Regions from separate parts of the Homo sapiens genome. Here regions 1 and 2 are each linked to region 3. The links are contacts of gene promoters, found by promoter capture Hi-C in blood cells and fetal thymus (Javierre and others, 2016). All regions are on one chromosome and are shown on one strand. Each heading gives the region's core, a stretch centred on a gene start or on the middle of the fragment in contact. The rest is flanking DNA. Distances are from core to core; before and after follow the strand shown. Region 1 overlaps NTAQ1 (N-terminal glutamine amidase 1). Region 2 has its middle 50 kb from the start of NTAQ1. Region 3 holds the start of ANXA13 (annexin A13).

Region 1 (2,730 bases), core at 90-2,589, 300 kb before region 3:
AGAAGATAAAAAATTGATTCGTGGGAAGAAAGCCTTTAGCTGGAGCTTGTGTGGTAGAAAGAGGTAGAGAAGGTTGCTGCAGATGGAGGGGAATGACATGAGCAGACCCATTGGGAGGCAGTGGTGGACTGTTTGGGGGCGTGGAGGATAGGATGTATCTGGGGAAGTCCAGAGAATAGGCATTCATTTTTGAATCTTTCTGTTTTGCTAAGACAGACTTAGAGCCAAAGGCAGCACTCAGGCTTTTAAAGGCACAGCATCCCTAGTCTTAAGTATTGTTCTTACCTCAGGATTTATACAGGGCTCAAGTAGAATGATATTTGAGAAAGAAAGTGCCTTTTAAACTCTAAGATATTGTAGAAATATAAGTTGGTATTACTAATGTTGCTAGGTTGCTTTGATTTCACAGTGCTGTTCTCTATGAGAGCGTTTTTCTTTGGAAGAACTCAGAGCACCACATTGCTCATGTCCCTTGATCACCTCCCTGAAATCCCTTTCAGCTCATCGCTGGTGTTGGGCAGTACCTTGAGTCTGAGAGTGAGGGTGAGAATTAACATCCACACTGTGACAGAGCTGTGTGGGAAAAGCTGTCTTTTTCTTTCTCCCTTAGTGGCTACAGATGAAAGCTTGGCTAACTTCTTTTTTTAAAAAATAGTTTTTCCTTTCTTTTAATTGCAAAAGTGGTTCCAAACTAGAAATTAAAGTCCTCCTTCTCCTCTCCAGGCTGACCCCCAGAAGCCTCCTTTGTTACTAGTTTGGAGCAGATCCTTGCAGACGTTTTCCTCTGCATTCACATGCATGCAAATGTACTTCTGAATGCGCACGTATGTCTTTATATACAGATAGCTTTTAACAAATAGCAGGTGGGGCCGGCACTGTGGCTCACACCTGTAATTCCAGGACTTTGGGAGGCTGAGGCGGGGGGATCACTTGAGGCCAGAAGTTGGAGACCAGCCTGGCCAACATGGTGAAACACCATCTCTACTAAAAATACAAAAATTAGCTGGGCGTGGTGGCGGGTGTCTGTAGTCCCAGCTACTCAGGAGGCTGAGGCAGGAGAATCGCTTGAACCCAGGAGGCGGAGGTTGCAGTGAGCTGAGATTATGCCACTGCACGCCAGCCTGGGTGATAGAGCAAGACTCTGTCTCAATTAAAAAAAATATGTGGGGCCAGGCACCGTGGCTCACACCTGTAATCCTAGCACTTTTGGAGACTGAGGCGGGTGGATCGCCTGAGGTCAGGGGTTCAAGACCAGCCTTGCCAGCATGATGAAACCCTATCTCTACTAAAAATACAAAAAATTAGCTGGGCATCGTGGTGCGCGCTTGTAATCCCAGCTACTCGGGAGGCTGAGGCAAGAGAATTGCTTGAACCCGGCAGGTGGAGGTTGCAGTGAGCTGAGATCATGCCACTGCACTCCAACCTGGGTGACGAGAGTAAGACTCCATCTCAAAAAAAAAAAAAAAAAAAAAGTTTCCTAGAGGTAAAATTGCAGTTTCAGAGGATGTGCATTTAATGACTATGAACATTTCCATTATTTAACCATTTCCCTATCTGTGGACATTTAGTCTGTTTTCATGTTTTCAGGGTGTTGTGTTTGCTTTATTCTATTTTGCTATTATAAGGAGGGCTGTAGCAGTCCTATATCCTTTTTAGTGATAAGGTATGTGTCTGAATACTGGGATTTCATCATTATGAAGTAACTTGGTTAACTTCAGCAACTTTTACTTTTAGGATTACCATGTTGTTTTGCTTCATGTTTCAAGTGGAGGACAGAACTTCATTTATGATCTCGATACTGTCTTGCCATTTCCCTGCCTCTTTGACACTTATGTAGAAGATGCCTTTAAGTCTGATGATGACATTCACCCACAGTTTAGGAGGTGAGGACATTCAAGATGGATTTACTTATTTTCTGAAGTAAGAATTTGACGATTCCACAGAGGTTCTTTTTTTTTTTGACAATTGTTTTGTAAAGATCTCGTCTGACATCACCATTGAGTTGATGTTTAAGAATGATGTATTTGCAACACAGGAGATTCAAAATGTTTTAAAGCTTTAAAAGTTATCTATCATATGAAAGGTTGTCATTCTTTTAAAATTTTGTGTGATGAGATCTCAGACATTTAATTTCAAGCGGGTTGGGGATTTTTCTTATATTCTTTTTGTTTTTGTGGGGATACCTCGTGCTGTCACCATTGAGAGGGCTGTGAGGGCAGCATCAGAAAATCATGCCCATTGCCCTTGATACACAAATCGAGTAAATCGAGGCAACCAGATATATTTTTGTGCCTTTGCCTTTCTGTTTCGGGGTTTGGTTGATCATTTCCTATGCTTCTCTAATAGGTAGTAAAGTTGCCTGTATTACTAACCATACAGAAATGCATGAGTAGTTTTGTGCATGTCATAGGAAATGAGTCGATATAAAAATGGAGTTAGAATTTCAAACATGACATCTCCCTAATGTGAGTGTATATTGATTTTTCTGCAGGAAATTTAGAGTGATCCGTGCAGATTCATATTTGAAGAACTTTGCTTCTGACCGATCTCACATGAAAGACTCCAGTGGGAATTGGAGAGAGCCTCCGCCGCCATATCCCTGCATTGAGACTGGAGGTGAGCCAAGATGCCTTCTCAGATGGGGGTTCTGATTGATCACATACACATCAGCATTTTTCCTTAACGGAGGACAAAAGTCAGGTTGTTCTTTGAATAAAACTCCATGAGTGA
Region 2 (2,723 bases), core at 57-2,556, 270 kb before region 3:
GCTTTCCCCATTGATAATGTAGAACCACCGTACATTTTCAAAACTAGGAAATTGACATTGACATTGACACAATACTGTGAACTAAACTATAGACCTTGATTTTCATGAATTTTGACATGCTCTTGTGTGTGCATGTGTATAAACAGTACTGTGAAATCTTGTCACACATATAGATATGTGTAATCACTACCAAAACAAGGACACCGTCACCAGCTTCCGTCACTGCAGAGAAACTCCCTCATACTAAAGCTTTGTAGTCAGGCCCTCCTGCCAACCCTAACCCCTGGCGACCACTCATCTGTTCTCTATCACCAGAATTTTGTCATTTTAAGAGTGTTCTGTAAATGGAATTGTATAGTACGTACCCTTTTGAGATTGCTTTTTTCACTCAGCATAACATCTTTTTTTTTTTTTTTTTTTTTTTTTGAGACAGAGTCTTGCTCTGTCACTCAGGCTGGAGTGCAGTGGCACGATCTTGGCTCACTGCAAACTTTGCCTCCTGGGTTCAAGCAATTCTTGTGCCTCAGCTTCCTGAGTAGCTGGGATTACAGGCGCCCGCCACCATGCCAGGCTAATTTTTGTGTTTTCAGTAGAGATGGGGTTTCACCATGTTGCCCAGGCTGGTCTCGGAACTCCAGGGCTCAAGCGATCCACCCACCTCGGCCTCCCAAAGTGTTGGGATTACAGGTGTGAGCCACTGCACCCAGCCAGCATGACATCTTTGAGTTCCATCCATATTGTTGCCTGTGTCAGTAGTTCATTCTTTCTCTATAACTTAGAGTTGTATTCTGTTGTATACCCATTCACAGTTTGTCATTCTGCATGAAAGTCATTTTAAATCCTGTCCAAGAGGACCCTCTGGGAGGGTGAGAGGAAGCCAAAGAGTGAAGTCTGAGTGGACGGGATTGCCAGAGAACCAGGGGCTGAGGGCAATAGCAGCTGGAATGGAATGCTTCTCCCTTGTTCTGAGAATTACAACTGGAGAGGTTCCCAGAGATGGGAATCACCAAAGATCCCAAGAAAAGTGCCCCAAGTGAGAGGCAGCTTTATATAGCTGCAAAGCCCAGTGAGCAGGAAGTCAGCTTACAACTGTGCCACTCAGAAGCCAATTAAAGTAGCTCCAGACATAACCACTTACCTCTTTGCCGTCTGTCCATTTGGGCATGGGATCCAAGCCAGTAGCTAGTGAGTGGAGGAGGATTATGGCGCATGGTGCAAGACAGAAGAAAATGACTACTTTCCCCTCACCTCCCTGGGAACTGCCAGCTCTCGCAAAGAAGGGGAAGAAATCTTTTGAGTGAAAATGGAATTGTTGATGAATAGAATGAACTGACTCACTGAATTACTCTAGTAAGACCATGTTTGTGACTTGATGTGACCATCAGACTGTCATTACTTGAAAGTGACACAGCAGGCAGGAGCCTGCAATTGTTTTCATCTGGAGTGAGGACAAGATTCTTTTCTCCTGCTGCCCCTCCTCCCTTTTCCCCCCTGGCAAACTGTATACATGGATGTGCAAATATCTCTTTGAGATCTTGTTTTCAGTTCTTTTGGATATATACCAAGGAATGGGATTGCTGGTCATATAATTGCTGGTAATTCTAGTTTTAATTTTTTGAGGAACCTCCATTCTGTTTTCCATGGGCGATACCATTTTACAGTAAAGGGATGATGGAAGAAAAACAATAAAGTGGCATTTTGATTATGTTACCCTATCAGTTACATAAATAACTTGGAAATAAACATCTTCTATATATAAGTTCTTTTTTTAATAGTATAATTTTCCTTAGAGCAAATTCCTGAGCATGGTATTAATAGGTCAAAGGACCAGGAAATGTTTGTGGTTCTTGAAACATATTCCAAATTGCTTTTCTTTCTTTCTTTTTCCTTTTTTTTTTTTCTCAGTCTGTTGTCCAGGCTGGAGTGCAGTTGCGTGATCCCGGCTCACTGCAAGCTCCGCCTCCTGGGTTCAAGTGATCCTCAGCCTCCCTCAGCTGGAACTACAGGCATGCACCACCATGCCCGGCTAATTTTTGTATTTTTAGTGAGATGGGGTTCCGCCATGTTGGTGAAGCTAGTGTTGAACTCCTGGCCTCAAGTGATCGACCTGCCTTGGCCTCCTAAACTGCTGGGATTACAGGAATGAGCCACTGCGCCCGGCCGCCAAATTGCTTTTCTAAATGTTTGTGCCAACTTACATTCCCACCAGATATTGTATGAAGGTTTTATCACATATTCAATGGCATGAGATAGTGTTATGAGATTGTTAATGTAATGGGATTTAAGTACCATTTTGATGTTTGAAATAATTTTTAAAGTGTTTTCATAAAATAATTCTTGCATTAAGTGTTTTATCAATGTCTTTAAGCTTGGCTTTAGTATCTTGAGTATAGAATGTAGCTGAGGGTCTGATTTCATAAATTAATTACTGGCCATTCATATCCAGGTTCCAGAGGGTTCCTTGGAGCAGTTAGAACCAGACCAAATCCTGTAGAATTGTGAGCAAGGAAGAAAGGGAGAGGCAAGGGCCAGAGGAGCAGTGAATATGAGAGACAGGTTCAAGGTATCTATTTTTATTTTATTTGTTTATTTAGAGATGGAGTTTTGCTCTTGTTGCCCAGGCTGAAGTGCAATGGCACGGTCTCGGCTCACTGCAACCTCTGCCTCCCGGGTTCAAGCGATTCTCCTGCCTCAGCCTCCCAAGTAGCTAGGGTCACAGGCGC
Region 3 (2,700 bases), core at 65-2,564:
CTCATAATCTCTGCTGGTATGAAAATGCTATTTGTAGATGATTTGAAAAACAATGCCTTTCCTAAGAATATATTTGTAAGTTTGTAAACATCTGAGTGCAGCTTGAATATATAGCGAAGGAAAAACCTTATAGACAAAGTAACAGTTTACAGAAAGTTTTGGAGTTTTATTCTCTGCTCATAGTGTGCATGAAATATATCATTCTTGCTGTGGAAATTTACAGCAGGTACACAAAACCTTATTAAGATTTGTATTGGAATAGCTTTAGATATACTTCAATGTAAAAAATATTCAAGATTCAACTCTGATCTGTCCTGTGTGTAGTTGGTTCCAAAAGGTAGTGTTTTAGTCAGTTTTTAGTCATTAACTATTTATAGACACACTATTCAGGAGCCTAAACATTTCAAAAGAAATGTAAATTATTAAGTCCATTCCATGGATATTTGCAAATATGTGGATGTTTAGAAATAATAATGGAATATTTTCACCTTGCAATCCAAGTTGTGTGGACTTACATGAGTATTTACCTTGGTCTATTAATATTTGCAACATGAACCTATCTTTCCCACATAACTCTGAATGGGCTTAGTTTATGAAGTTTTATACAAATTTGCTACAAACTAACAGCTTTAGTTATACATTCTACAGATACATATTAACCATTTGCTCTCTGCAAGGCACTATTTACTGCCTTATTTTACATACTTCTTTCTCTTTAGCCCCTCTTAAGAGATTTTTGGCCAATAAGGGAATAATATATCCCCAGTGCTTTTTTTTTTTTTTTTTTGGGACGGAGTTTCACTCTTGTAGTCCAGGCTGGAGTGCAGTGGTGCAATCTCGGCTTATTGCAACCTCCGCCTCCCAGGTTCAAATGATTCTCCTGCCTCAGCCTCCTGAGTAGCTGGGACTACAGGCATGTTCCACCACACCTAGCTAACTTTTTTTTTTTTTTTAATTTTTTTAGTAGAGACAGTGTTTCACCATGTTGGCCAGGCTGACCTCAAACTCCTGACCTCAAGTAATCCGCCCACTCTGGCCTTGCAAAGTGCTGGGAGTACAGGTGTGAGCCACCGCACCCGGCCTCAATGCATTTTAAAAGCATGGTATGCTGTTGCTAAAACCAATATTAAAGGGTAACCATAGTGATAAAGTATACAAGTATCAGTCATGATTTTATAGTTTAAATTCTTCCACATGCTAACCAAAATTAAAACCAATTCCCAAAGGCAATGAGTACTTACATGACGATTGCCCATTTTCCTTTTTCTGAGATGGTTTTTCTGTATTTCATCAAGAGATCAGTCCTCCTACAGGCAAAGTTTACAACAGTTTTCCCCCCGGACATAATATCTCTTGTGTTTAATAAGTAACTTTTGGCACTGAATTTGAATACATTGTTGGGGATGGGTAGGGAGTGGCTCTAGCTACAGATAAACTTAGACTGCCCAGGTTTCCTTGGTACCCATGTTTTTAAAATAATATACTTCTTAATAAATAAAGTTTAGGCTTTTAAAGTTGAATAGCTTCTTCCCACCTAAAAGACTAAACCTGCCTCACTTCTGAATTGTTGAGTTATTCTTTCATATTCTGGTGTTCATTTAAAATATTATGCCTTTTAGTAATGAAAGCATTAACCAAATAGAAAAATATTACTATTTTTTACTAACATTGTTATTATTATTACAGAGAATTTTTCGAAGGCTACATTGCATTACACTAGATCATTTAAAAAATTTTACTGAGTTTTGAATTTAAAAAGTAATATGTGCAGATGGTAAATTTGTTTCTAATAATACATAAAGGTCCTGTGAAAAGTCGGCCTACTGACTTCCTTTTTCCTTCCCCCAGAGGTTTTCCGTGAGTCCTTCCTGAAGTGGTCCATGCATATTCAGCTATGTCCGTCGGTCTGCCTGTCTAGTTACCTACCTCTCTGTTTATCTTGATCCAACTTGTCTTTTCTTCCTCACCAAATGGGTTTGTACAATGTATTCTGTTCCATGCCTTGCATATTTCTTGTCTTTCCTTTTTTTTTCTGAGATTATTACAACATGTTTCTTTTTTTATTTGTACAAACTTATGTGGTACATAAGACATTTTGTTACATGCATATAATGAGTAGTGATCAAGTCAGGGTATTGAGAGTGTTTGCCTGAGTACAATAGATTTCTGTTGAGTACAGCCACCGTACTCTACTATCCAACACTGAATTTATTCCTTCCATCTTAGTGTGTGTTTGTACCCTTTAACCCACTTCTCCTCTTCCCCCGCAACTCACCCTTTCCAGTCTCTTTTCTCCATCTATCCACTCTCTACCTTCATGTGATCAATTTTTTAGCTCCCACATTTAAGGGAGAACATGTGATATTTGTTATAAGGGAGAACATGTGATATTTGTCTTTTTGTGCCTTGCTTATTTCACTTAATATAGTGTATATTTCATATACTAAAGAGATATTTGACACTGGCACATTTCTTTTTCAGTGGCCATGTAGTCAACTGTTATGGATATGAACCAAACCTTATTTCATCAGTCTACCGTTGAAGGTCATTTAGATTGTTTTTGATCTTTTGCATGAATATCTCATACACATCTTTGTTGTGCTTTCTTATCTGTAGAATAAAATCTTAGAATAGAGTTGCTGGCTAAAGACTATGTGCACTGAAAATTCTGATAGCTGTTGCCAAGTTGTCCTCCACACT

The links. The method cuts DNA at HindIII sites, captures the fragments that hold promoters and counts their contacts. A CHiCAGO score of 5 or more calls a contact.
Region 1: a fragment that was not itself captured here is called in contact with the fragment with the promoter of ANXA13 in region 3 in 1 of 17 cell types (M1 macrophages); the score reaches 5.9 in M1 macrophages.
Region 2: a contact is called between a fragment that was not itself captured here and the fragment with the promoter of ANXA13 in region 3, in 2 of 17 cell types (M2 macrophages and M0 macrophages). The highest score is 6.6, in M2 macrophages.

The regions. Positions count from the first base shown.
Region 1 is chr8:123,434,719-123,437,448 of GRCh38, forward strand. NTAQ1 (N-terminal glutamine amidase 1) reads left to right here. Exons shown (of 6, transcript NM_018024.3): 4 at 1,735-1,883; 5 at 2,492-2,616. Among named protein-coding and RNA genes, the nearest start is that of NTAQ1, 19 kb to the left of the region's middle. The HindIII fragment of the contact is 1,430 bases long and covers 625-2,054 here.
Region 2 is chr8:123,465,174-123,467,896 of GRCh38, forward strand. It overlaps a transcript of NTAQ1 not described here. Among named protein-coding and RNA genes, the nearest start is that of NTAQ1, 50 kb to the left of the region's middle. The HindIII fragment of the contact is 2,119 bases long and covers 248-2,366 here.
Region 3 is chr8:123,736,079-123,738,778 of GRCh38, forward strand. ANXA13 (annexin A13) reads right to left here and starts at 1,315. Exons shown (of 11, transcript NM_004306.4): 1 at 1,242-1,315. The coding sequence starts at 1,256. All of the region lies in intron 1 of LOC105375739 (a long non-coding RNA gene), which reads left to right. The HindIII fragment of the contact is 24,256 bases long and covers 1-2,700 here.